Linked DNA regions of Homo sapiens: regions 1 and 3 are each linked to region 2. The links are contacts of gene promoters, found by promoter capture Hi-C in blood cells and fetal thymus (Javierre and others, 2016). All regions are on one chromosome and are shown on one strand. The core of a region is centred on a gene start or on the middle of the fragment in contact, and the rest is flanking DNA. Distances in the headings are between cores, read along the strand shown.

What was found. Contacts are between HindIII fragments. The CHiCAGO score rates a contact against its expected background, and 5 or more counts as called.
Region 1: a fragment that was not itself captured here is called in contact with the fragment with the promoter of XRCC5 in region 2 in 1 of 17 cell types (neutrophils); the score reaches 5.9 in neutrophils.
Region 3: a fragment that was not itself captured here is called in contact with the fragment with the promoter of XRCC5 in region 2 in 1 of 17 cell types (neutrophils); the score reaches 6.0 in neutrophils.

Annotation. Positions count from the first base shown.
Region 1 is chr2:222,633,664-222,638,056 of GRCh38, reverse strand. It overlaps FARSB (phenylalanyl-tRNA synthetase subunit beta), which reads left to right. Exons shown (of 17, transcript NM_005687.5): 6 at 3,516-3,666. Among named protein-coding and RNA genes, the nearest start is that of FARSB, 20 kb to the left of the region's middle. The HindIII fragment of the contact is 6,400 bases long and covers 1-4,393 here.
Region 2 is chr2:216,107,189-216,111,213 of GRCh38, reverse strand. XRCC5 (X-ray repair cross complementing 5) reads right to left here and starts at 1,866. Exons shown (of 21, transcript NM_021141.4): 1 at 1,757-1,866. The coding sequence starts at 1,777. RefSeq lists an enhancer at 1,521-2,142. The HindIII fragment of the contact is 16,954 bases long and covers 1-4,025 here.
Region 3 is chr2:223,938,459-223,942,581 of GRCh38, reverse strand. The region is part of intron 1 of WDFY1 (WD repeat and FYVE domain containing 1); the gene reads left to right. Among named protein-coding and RNA genes, the nearest start is that of WDFY1, 4.8 kb to the left of the region's middle. The HindIII fragment of the contact is 3,092 bases long and covers 799-3,890 here.

The DNA.
Region 1 (4,393 bases), core at 1,128-3,627, 6.5 Mb before region 2:
CTCTTTTTTTTCCTTTGATCAGTGTGGCTAGAGGTTTATCAGTTTTATTGATCTTTTTGTTTGTTTGTTTGTTTTGAGACAGGGTTTTTCTCTGTTGTCCAGGCTGGAGTCCAGTGGCATGATCATCTCATTGTAACTCCAGAACTCCTGTGCTCAAGTGATCCTCCTGCCTCAGCCTCCTAAGTAGCTGGGACTACAAGCATGAGTCACCACACCTGGCTAATTTTTAAATTTTTTTGTAGAGACAGGGGTCTTGCTTTATTGTCCAGGCTGGCCTTATAGGCTTTAAGTGATCCTCCTGTTTCAGCCTCCTAAAGTGCTGGGGTTACAGTTATGAACCACTCATTTTATTGATCTTTCAAAGAATGAACTTTTGGTTTCATTGATTCTTCTCTTATTTTTTCCTCTATTTTTATTGATTAAGCCTCTTTTTTAGGCTAATTAGTCCCTACTGCTGAGGCAAGACCCTTTGCCTACTATATCCATTGCTACATGAGCAGTGAAGTTTTAGTCTGTGTGAGCATGGAGCACTGTTTCCTCTAATTCCGTTGAGTAATTCTTTCCTGGCCTTGGGTAGTTTTCTCAGCTGCATGTTCTGATCAATACTGAGCTCACCAGTATTCCAGTGGGACCCTCTGCATATCTTCAGAGTTCTCTCTCTGTGTAGCTCTCTGGTTTTCTCTGGGACTCTGCCCACCTTGGCCTCCCCAAACTCTCAGCTATGTCTCTTGCTCTCAGGGAGTCTCCTGGACTCCACTGGGCCTGCTTTCCTGCCCTATAGTCAGGGCTCACCTCACTTGTTTCCTGTGTCTCAGGGATTGCTGCCCTTTATTGCCTGCTGTTAGTTGCCATAAAAACTATTGCTCCATATATTTTGCTCTTCGGTTGTTTCAGGCAAGAGTAAATCTAGTGTGTTATTCTGTCTTGGCTTGAAGTGCCTAGTGAGTCTTTTACTTCAGTTATTTTACTTTTCATCTCTGCAATCCACTGCCTTTTAAAAAAAATAGTTCCTTCTTTTCTGCAGATATTTCCTCGTCTATTTATTATGTGTATGTTCTTCCATAATTCTTGAACATTTTTTAGTAGCAGCTTTAAAATCTATGTGGCAGTATCAGAATCTGGGGCATCTTAGCGTTGGTTTCTATGGACTAGTTTTGTCTGGAGTAAGAGTCATGTCTTCCATATTTCTTCTCATGTCCATTGCCTTTTGATGCATATAGAATATCATATTAGGGAAGAGTCTTGACTTTGCTATGTTTCTCTGAAGAGTGGTTTTTGTTCTTTCAGGCAAAGACTTGAATACTTAGCTAGATTCAGACTCAGCAGTGGTTCAGTTTTCTGCTCAGTTCTTTCAGCTTTCAGTTGCTGCTCTATTATAGCAAGACTTTGAAATTTTTACCATTATGTTAGATAAAACCTTGATTTCTGAATATTTTTAGTTTTTTCATATCTTACTATATTTGGAATGTTAATCTTTTTACTGTATATATGTTGTAAACCTTTTTTTGTGTTTTTTGACTTTTAGTTTCTTTTGGACATGTAAGGTTTTTAATTTGGGTATAGTTATCAGTCTTCCTGTTTGACTTTTAGATTTTATGACCTACTTAAGAAGTGGTGTCCTGGAAGTTGACTCTACAGTTTTAAGCATATTCTTTTTTTTTTTTTTTTTTTGAGATAGAGTCTCGCACTCTCGCCCAGGCTGGAGTGCGCCAAGCTCTGCCTCCTGGGTTCATGCCATTCTCATGCCTCAGCCTCCTGGGTAGCTGGGACTACAGGCGCCCGCCAACCACATCTGGCTAATTTTTTGTATTTTTAGTAGAGACGGGGTTTCACCATGTTAGCCAGGATGGTCTTGATCACCTGACCTTGTGATCCACCTGCCTCGGCCTCCCAAAGTGCTGGGATTACAGGCATGAGCCACCGCGTGCGGCCTAAGCATATTCTTCTATATTTTCTTATCTTTTTTTTTTTTTTTTTGAGACAGAGTCTCACCTTGTTGCCCAGGCTGGACTACAGTGGTGCAATCACAGCTCACTATAGCCTTGACCTTCCTGGCTCAAGTGATCCTCCTACTTCAGCCTCCCAAGTAGCTGAGACCACAAGTGTGTGGCACCACAGCCAGCTAATTTTTACATTTTTTGTGGAGATGGGGTCTCACCATGTTGCCCAGGCTGGTCTTGAACTCTTGGGCTCAAGCAGTCTTGCTGCCTTGGCCTCCCAAAGTGTTGAGATTTCAGGCGTGAGCCACCTCACCTGGCCTCTGTATTTTCTTTGAATAATTTTTATGGTGTCTTTTGTATGTGTGCCTGTGTGTTTGTCTTTTGCTTTTCAAAATGCTTAGGTCTTTGATTCATCTGGAGTTACGTTTTTTTGTTGCTGATTTGAAGTTGAAATTTTGGTGATGTTTTGAGGTACTGTTTTAGGATTAAGGGACCAATGTTAATATCTAAGAAGACAGACTTTCTTACCTGTGCATTTGTCAATTATTAATTTACCTGCATTTATCAAACCATGCATATTTTATCCTATGATAGTTCTGGGTTTATTATCTTCTGTAAGCATATGACTAATTGAGTAAAGTAACACTCCCTTATTGCCTGTTAGCAATTCTTTTTAACCCTATTTATTAAAGTTGTAGTTCACCAGTCCTGCAGTCCTAGAAGTTGACCAAAATTTAATATTAAGCATTTTAAACTAATTTAGTGCACATACACTTTAAACTAAAGAATGTTAAGAACACAAATTTTGACCAAGTTCCTCCTTTCAAATTGACTGTTAGAAAGCCAAACTTGTGTCCTTTCCTGGTAAGACTTAGGCTTTTAGATTCTAATTCAGAATTAACATTTCCTGGCTCGGTTTTACATCCCTACTTCTATTTCTTTCTCTCCTATTTTGTTGCTTGCTGTAATTTCCTAAAATTACCTTAAATCCTTTGTGGATAAACTGTAGAACAAGTGAAATGAATACCTTTTGAACTTTCCTTATACATTAAAGTAAACTTGAACTGTAATTCAGAGCTGTTGAAATTAAAATTAAATTTTTTCCATGACTAAGGTAATGCAGCTATGTGATAAAATTTAGGAAAACATAGAAAAGCCAAAAAACCCACAATTCGATAGTTCGTTCTAATTTATTAAAACATGTTTACTTGAGTATATCAAGAAGAAATAGGTTAAAAGAGGTAAAGGAAATGCTAACTTTGAAGATATCCTAGAAACAATATTTGGGAAAAGATAATGGCAAGGAATTTTCTTCAGCTCCTGAAATCATGTATTTCAGGTAGTTTTGTGATTTCTCAGTACTCTTAATGGTTGTGAGAATTTGTTCATTATATGCCACTAATGATGCCATGTAGTAGCAATATGCTGTTTCAGGGAAGTATCTGAAATAATTAAAAAAAATATGTAGTCTATATTTATGTTATCTTTAGAATTTCGGCTTTAGAATATTCAAATCTGTCTCATTCTCCTCCTTTCCTTTCCTCCCTCCTTCTCCCTCAACCTCTCAACAATTAGGAAAAGAGCACTGGTTGCCATTGGTACCCATGATTTGGACACTTTGTCGGGCCCATTTACTTATACTGCAAAGCGTCCTTCAGATATCAAATTCAAGCCTCTAAATAAGACCAAGGAGTATACAGCCTGTGAACTGATGAACATATACAAGGTAAATATTCTTTTTGATTATGCAGCAGCTTTGCAAAAATCATGAAATTCCATCAAAGTCAAGCCTTGCAACTAGGGAAATGTAATCAATACTTTTAAAAAATAGCAGTGTCTGGACTCCAACCTAGAGACAGTGATTCATCTGATCTAGAGTGGGACCTGAACATAGTTTTATTTTATTTATTATTAAATTTTTAACCTCTGATATGATTTCAGTGTACTGCTAGGATTGAGAACCACTGAAGTAGACCATACCACATTGTAATCTTCAATTGAAACTCATGCAAGTATAAAGAACAGTAAAACTTAGCTAGTGTTTTTTGTGGGAAATACTGTTACAAGCTGTCTATCTCCCATTATTTAAAAGTCCAGCAGCGAAAATGAATTCAGTAGTCACTTTGAATTGTATTTAATAAGTAGAAAAAATAGGTGTCGTTTAGAAAAAGCAGGGTCATCCTTGCCCTGATTTGCAAGTGACTTCTTCGTATTTATCTAAATAGTTTTGTCATGGTTTATGTTTCCTTTGAAATGATTCAGGCATACCAGTGCAAATCTGTTTTCACTCTTGAGAAATGATTCAATTGTGTTCATTGAATACTGGAATATTAATTTATATTAGAAAATCTTATAAATTTAGAGCTTTCTTTAATTTGGGTCTGTTTTAATGTTTTTCTAACTTTTCCCCTCCTTTTTTTTTTTTTTTTTTTTTGAGACGGAGTTTCGCTCTT
Region 2 (4,025 bases), core at 617-3,116:
TATAAAAGGATTGGTCTGCCAAGAAAGACAACGGGATCAACAGATGGAAGTTACAGGGAGACTGATGCGACTCCATACGAGGGATAAAAAATAACATTTAGAAGTGATCAATAAAGAAACTACTCTTTTTTAAGTGATCTCTTGACCCTAGAAATGTTTTAAAAACCTGAATGAATTCCTATCAGGGAAGTTATAGATGATTTCTAAATGTGGTTATATCTCAGGCAACACATGAAAAGAAAAGATTATTTTTCACTAGTTTACAAACAACACAATGCACTAAGAGATTTCTGAAGTAAAATTAGATTATTTGAAAAAAAAAACGTGCTAATAAACCACAAAATTCCTTTGAGAACAGTAAAATGCACATCCCAGTTTCAATGCCTGGGGCATGATAACCTAAAAAAACTTAAGAGTCACAAAATATGCTGCTGCACTTATTTGATACACACCCACAAAAGCTACTTTTAAACCAGAAAACTCTAGAGGACTAAAGCACTTTTGTCATGAATTAGGTATCCAGTAAGTGCCATCAAAGGGTTTCAAATATGGAACTTATTGTCTGGAAGCAGAATGGTCTATATTTCTGAGTTCCTATCTGGCAGCAGTAAGAAAACTGAGAAAGAGAAACCGGGTAGCATAGCAACTCTTCATTTCTATACCGAAGCAATACAGGCTGTTAGAATTTTACTTCCAGTTCATCTGCAACAAACAGCTCCTCCACTAGAGCTACAAAGTTTTCAGCAGCTGAAAGAGGACGAAAAAAGGAGGTGAGTGGCATTATTAAAAGTTCATGATCGTTTTAATCAACATTTCTCAATGAGGAGTTGAGGGAACTAGGGATCAGTTGCTCAAACTCGTATCTTGTTTATCTGTATTGAATAAATTCATTAATCCCTGGAACCACATCTCCCTCTAGTGACCCTTCAGAGACAACTACCACTCTTTTATGTTGAAAAAAAAAAATCACTTTAAAATTCATTGTAATTTCTGTTACTGATCTGGGACACCAATGGTCATAGATTTCTAGCAACACAGGGGTTCTCCAGGGCCCTGAAACCAGACAGCTTGGATTCAAATCCGGATTTCACCAGGAAAAGCCCACAGTTCTTTATTCCTCGGTTTTCCCACTTGCAAAATGGGGATAAATAGTTTTCACTTCAAGGGGTTGTGAAGATTAAATGAGATAAGAATAAAAGGTTTAGATCCGTCCCTCACAGAGTGGGCTTTCAATAAATGCGGGATACTACGTTATTATAAAGCTAATAATACGACGCTTTACAGTTTAAGTTATTTTAGTCACAGATAGTCCCTCTCTTAAGTTTTACAACAAGCCCTGTGGGATAGTTGCTTTATCACAGCTAATTTTCATTCTCATAGAGATCTTAAGAACCCAGGCTCGGAAGTAATAGAGGAAGTGGGGCTAGGGAGTGGAATGGGATAAAGAGAGAGAGAGGGGAGGCGGGTGGGGAGGCAGGTGAGACAAAGAGCAGGTAGAGAGGGAGAAGAGGGATGGGATGGGTGGGTAATGGAAGAGGTGGAGTCAGCGAGGCTCAAATTCAGGTCTTGGAGCCCCAAATCTCCAGCTTTTCTCATAGCGCATCCCTCGGTCCCGGCCCTCCTGACTGAGCCCACCACCATGATCTTCTCTTGCCCCATTCTTTGTCTTGACCGCGATCCCACGATTCCTGCTTCCGAACCACCCTCTCCGGATCCCCAGTCCGGGTAAAGCCCAAGTCCATGGCTTTCTTTATACCTTATTCCCCGACCGCACCATGTTGCCGGTCCTCAGGCGCTTTGGTCGCTTCTTCCGGGCGGGAACCTGCCGTGTCGCAACTCGCTTCCGGTGGACAAGCGGCAGATAGCGGAAAGAGCCGCTTCGTTTCCTGCTAGGCCTGAAAGGGGCGGGGAAACCGTGCCCCGGAACTCTGAGCATGCGCAGATTCCCGCCGAGCTTGCGCAGATTCCCGCCGAGCTCGCGCAGATTCCGGCCGAGCATGCGCAGATTCTCTCCGAGCATGCGCAGATTCCCGCCGAGCATGCGCAGATTCCCGCCGAGCATGCGCACATTCTCTCCATTCCGCCGTAGTCGGGAGCGTGTGGTGTTTGAGCCGCCTGAAACGCTAGTACGACAGATTTACTTAAAGATTCACTTAATCACTTAAAGATTCACGTCCCTTTTCTCTCATTGAGAATAACACCTAAGGCATTTTGTGTCAGAGCTCTGGAGTTAGATTTCTTTTCTTTTTTTTACTTTTTTAAAAAATCTTTTTTCCTTTAATTTCATTTTTTCATTTATTTTTTATAACTTTTGATTTTTTTTTTTCTCATCACTTGTGGGTTTTTTTCTACTTTTTATTTTTGGTTATTGTGGAGTTAGATTTTCTTGAGTATGAGTATGAATGCAGAAAGTCACTTAACTTCTCTAAAAGACTCAGTTTCTTCTAAAAAGTGATAATGAAACACTTCACCGATGTGATAACCTTAGAGCCAACTGGGGAAGAAGAGTAGGACGTCCCCAGGAGCACAAAAGTAGAAGGGAGATTCTACTCTGCAGAGAAAATGGGATGCACAAACGCCTGGAGGCATGAGACTTTATCTGCTAAGGCTCTCCCAGTAGTTAGCAGTGGCTCCAGCTTGGAAGGGAGGAGTCAAGGTTTAATTTAGAAGACAAGTCTAGGGAGATATAGAAATAGCAGCTGTCATCACAGTGCTTTACTTGATCACGAGCCCTTTGTCCAGCCCGCATCCCCTACCCCTTTGAGGGAGGCAGGCCCAAGCAGTACCTTGCATAGAAATGACTGCTTTCTATACCATATGACCCCCAGCTGACAGGTGGCTGGACGAAGGGTCTGGCAACCTGCAAAGTGTCTGCAAACCTCTGCCCAAACTGAGAAAATCAAGTCCAATCAATATTCTCTCCTGCTTGAAAATTGTTTCTGGGAAAAGCAAGAATTGAAGCTGAAAAGATGTGGAGAATCTATGAGCCAAAATTATAAATACATTGAAGCCTCTAGAATGTAGAGTCAGACATATTCAGAGGTGCTCATAGAGCCCAGGAGGTTCTTCCAGCTTTTGATTCAAACTCAAGGAGTTACTTAAAAGCTGAAATATTATTTTTAATAATACTTTAAAGGAACAGCAGCGCCCTGGCCGCTCAGCTTTGCGCGGGCTGCAGCAGGCAGGCAGGCAGGCACGGACACTCGCCCTTCCCTGCGGGTAAGATTTCCAAGAGAAAGATCAGCTCGGCAGAAGGGGCGGGGAAGATCTGTGAGGTTGTCAGCTAAATCTCCTCCAGCAAAGGTGGAAACGAAGCCCAGCGGAGGCAGCAGGACAGCATAAATTTTCAGACAAAGAAGCAAACAAGGAAAAATGGGAGCAAAGGGCAAACAGGCCAAGTGGCTATCCGGGAAACAAAAGATTTATCTGTGGAAAGCGGAGAAACTGAAACAAGGAGAGTCCAGCCTCTGGTGAAGCAGGACAGAAAGAAGCCAAATCTGATTAGTATCACATACCATATCTTGTCAGTGGTCCTTGTCTCCCTTCTTGTACGATCCAGAGCTAGAGAGAGAGAGAAAAGGAAAGAAACAGACAGGGTGTCGCTCGGCCGAGGCTGGAGTCCAGTAGCACAATCATAGCTCTCTGCACCCTGGAACCCCTGGGCTCAAGCGATTCACTTACCTCAGCCTCCCAGGTAGCTGGGACCACAGGTGTGTGCCACCAAGCCCAGCTAATTTTTGTGGGGTTTCTGTGTGTGTGTGGAGGCGGGGTCTTCCTATGTTGCCCAGCCTGGTCTTGAACTCCTGGGATCAAGCGATCCTCCCGCTTCAGCCTCCCAAAGTGCTGGGATGACAGGTGTGAGCAACTGCACTTGGCCTCAGAGGAATATTTTTATCAACTATTTTGATAAGGAATATTTTTATCAACTATTTTTAAATGCAAGTTTTTTAGTAGCTGTAGAAACTTTTTTTTTTTTTTTTTTTTTTGAGACAGAGTTTCCCTCTTGTTGCCCAGGCTGGAGTGTA
Region 3 (4,123 bases), core at 1,095-3,594, 7.8 Mb before region 2:
AGTCCGGCCTGGGCGACAGAGCGAGACTCCGTCTCAAAAAAAAAAAAAAAAAAAGTTAGCCTTTGGCCAGGCGCAGTGGCTCATGCCTGTAATCCCAGCACTTTGGGAGGCCGAGGCGGGTGGATAACAAGGTCAGGAGGTCGAGACCATCCTGGCTAACACGGCGAAACCCAGTCTCTACTAAAAATTCAAAAATTAGCCAGGTGTGGTGGCAGGCGCCTGTAGTCCCAGCTACTCGGGAAGCTGAGGCAGGAGAATGGCGTGAACCTGGGAGGCAGAGCTTGCAGTGAGCCAAGATTGTGCCACTGCACTCCAGCCTGGGCGATAGAGCCAGACTCCGTATCAAAAAAAAAAAAAAGTTAGCAGCCTTTATTCGGTCAAATATTTTATTCATGAATCATGCGTTTTGGGTAAGTTGCTAAATATTTGAGATTGCTGGTCAGGAGCAGTGCTGATAAATGTTTTTGGAAAGTGATTACTAAGCTGCTCTGGGACTGAAACGTTCTGGGGGAGCTTGCATCTGCTCACTTTTTCACTCGTGCACCACTGTTATTGCAGAGCCCAGGTAGATGACTGGACCAGGATGGGGTTGGCGTTTGAGGTTTCTGTTGTGTTCAGGCTCTTGCAACTTCCTTGAAGGGAGAACAACCTTTTTAGTAGGTGCTACACTTCATGAGATGTAATGAAAGCACATGGGCGTGGGTTTTTTCTTGGTGTTAGCCATGGTGGTTTGTTTTCACATTGTCATAAATACGTGTCACGTTCTTCACTCATTTACTCATTCATTTAGAAAAAGCTTTTTTATTGAGTGTCAGGCCCTGAGGACACAACAGGGGTCAAAAGCCACACTACCTTGGCCAGGCAAGGTGGCTCACGCCTGTAATCCCAGCACGTGTGTGGGGCCCATGCTAGACCTGTGGGGGAGAGACAGCTGACAGCTAAGTTGCTCTTTCCCAAGGGCTGAACAGTCTAGTGAAGAGATGGCCCCTATGTATTCAGCATCCAGTGCTGGGAAGACACAGGAAGAGGAGGCTCTTTGGGCTGGGGCCGGGGTTTGGGGACAGCCTCCTAGAGAAGGTCGTTGAGCTGGTCTTCATGGATAGAGGAGTGGCATCTAGAAAGGAAGGAGGGATGCACCCTCATCCCAGGCAGAGGAAGGAGGAAAGGACAGGAGGGAATTGTAAGAGGGAAAGAACCATAGCTATTTCTAAGTGACCAGAGCAAAAGGTGGGCAGTGACAATAGCAACAGAGAAGACTGAGAGCTAGAAGGACCCAGTGTCCGGTTTTGTTTTGTTTTTTAAATTAAAAAAAAAAAGTTTTTGGGGGCCAAGTGCGGTGGCTCACGACTGTAATCCCAGCACTTTGGGAGGCCAAGGCAGGCAGATCACCTGAGGTTAGGAGTTCAAGAACAGCCTGGCCAACATGGTGAAACCCCATCTCTACTATAAATACAAAAATTGGCTGGGTGCAGTGGCTCACACTTGTAATTCCAGCACTTTGGGAGGCCGAGGCGGGTGGATCACCTGAGGTCAGGAGTTTGAGACCAGCCTGACCAACATGGAGAAACCCCATCTCTACTAAAAATACAAAATTAGCTGGGCGTGGTGGCACATGCCTGTAATCCCAGCTACTTGGGAGGCTGAGGCAGGAGAATCACTTGAACCCAGGAAGCAGAGGTTGAAGTGAGCCGAGATCATGCCATTGCCCTCCAGCCTGTGCAACAAGAGTGAAACTCTGTCTCAAAAAACAAAAACAAAAAAACCCACAAAAATTAGCTGGGCATGGTGGCACACACCTGTGGTCCCAGCTACTTGGGAGGCTGAGACAGGAGAATCACTTGAACCTGGGAGGCGGAGGTTGCAGTGAGCTGAGATCACGCCACTGCACTCCAGCCTGGGCAACAAGAACAAAACTTTGTCTCAAAAAAAAAAAAAAGAAAGAAATAAGGAATTTGGACCTTATTTTGCAGGCAGTGTAGAACCATCAAAGAGTTCAAAACAAGCAAATGATATGATCGGAATTTGTAATTTAGAAATAACAATAGCTAACCTGTTGAAAGTCCCTTTTCTCTACGAGTACAGAATTGGACCTTATGTGTTATTGGATCCAATCCTCACACTTCCTCCCTATAAGGTAGGTACAGTCACCTTCTCTTATCAGCAGTTCCAAAATTTAGTGCATTCTAAACGTCAGAAGTGTGTATGTGTGTGTGTAAATTGGACCTGAAAACTCGTTTGGTGCTAAAATTTGGCCTGAACAAATGAGACTGTTTGTAATCTTTATTTACTGCATGCATCACAGTGGCATGATCTTGGCTCACTGCAACCTCTGCCTCCCAGGTTCAAGCGATTCTCCTGCTTCAGCCTCCCGAGTAGCTGGGATTACAGGCACCCGCCACCACACCCAGCTAACTTTTGTATTTTTAGTAGAGACAGGGTTTCACCGTCTTGGCCAGGCTGGTCTTGAACTCCAAACCTCGTGATCCACCCGCCTCGGCCTCCCAAAGTACTGGGATTACAGGCATGAGCCAGTAGCTTTTTACATTTAAAGTAGGGTCCAGCTGAAGTGAATTCATTTTACAAACGCTAAAAGCAGTGAGAACTAGCTGAGAGCATTTTGAGAAGAAAAGTGAAAGGTATGAAGGTTTTCCTGAAGTTAGTATCCACTTTTGTAAAATCTAGGCCAGTGGTTCTGGGCCAGGGGTGGTTTTCCCACCCAGGGAACATTTGGTAATATCTGGAGACATTTTTGGTTGTCATGATGTGGGGGAGGTGATATGGTTTGGCTGTGTCCCCACCCAAATCTTATCTTGAATTGTAGCTCCCATAATTCCCATGTGTTGTGGGAGGGACCCAGTGGGAAATAATTGAATCATGAGGGCAGTTTCCCCCATACTGTTCTCGTGGCAGTGAGTAAGTCTCAGGAGATCTGATGGTTTTACAAGGGAAAACCCCTTTGGCTTGGTTCCTATTTCTCTCTTGTCTGCTACCATGTAAGACATGTCTTCTGCCTTCCACCATGATTGTGAGGCTTCCCTAGCCACATGGAACTGTGAGTCCATTGAATCTCATTTTGTTTATAATTACCTAGTTTCTGGCATGTGTTTATCAGCAGTGTGAAAACGGACTAATACTGTATGTAACTAATACTGGCATCTAGGTAGAGGGTAGGGATGCATCTCAGTATCCTGTTATGCCCCACACCAAAGGATTATTGAGCCCCAAATGTCAATAGTGCTGATATTGAGAAACCCCAGTCCGGGCTTCATGTACTTATCTGGCCTCTCTAGAACACTGGTTCCTTAACTTGAATGTGCATCAGAATCACCTGGGGGTCTTGTTGAAATTCGGGTTGCTGGACCCCACCCCCAGAGTTTCTGATTTGGAAAGTCAGGTGGGGCCTGAGAGTTGGCATTTCTGCCAAGTTTCCAGGTGACGTTGATGCTGATGCTGCTAGTCCAGGGACCACACTTAGAACCACGGCTCTACAAGAAAGGAGGGTTATTTGTCACTGTGCTTGCCTATGTACAACCACCAAGAAAGAATACTGAATACAGAAATTAGCCAGGCATGGTAGTGTGCACCTGTAATCCTAGCTACTTGGGAGACTGAGACGGGAGGATCACTTGAGCCCGGTAGGCGGAGGTTGAGGTGAGCTGAGATCGTGCCACTGCACTCCAGCCTGGGTGACAGACCAAAACCCTGTCTCAAAAAAAAAAAAAAAATACTGCTTACATTTTATCCTCTTTTTTTTTGTCACCTTCTGGGATATATTTACCTGGGGTCATTCACAGATAGCCACCTAGTTCACTGTAATCAAACTGCATATGACAAAGCTAGATACGGTCAGCACTCCAAAGAGTATTAAGCCAATGTGGAATATCAAAGCTTAATGCCATTACACCTGGGAGTCACAGGTCATTAGTGGTTTGGGTGGTCAGCTTAGGGTTCTGCTTAGAAACCTTTATGGATTAATGTCTCGTGAATGGTTAATAGAAAATGGTACTACTTCTTGTATGAAGTCATTAGTATTTTGCTGAAGTAATAATTACCTTAAGCTCTTTAATTTAAATTTAAGTTTAAGAATTTGAACTACAGTGGTGACTTTCCTGGTAGGGGAAAC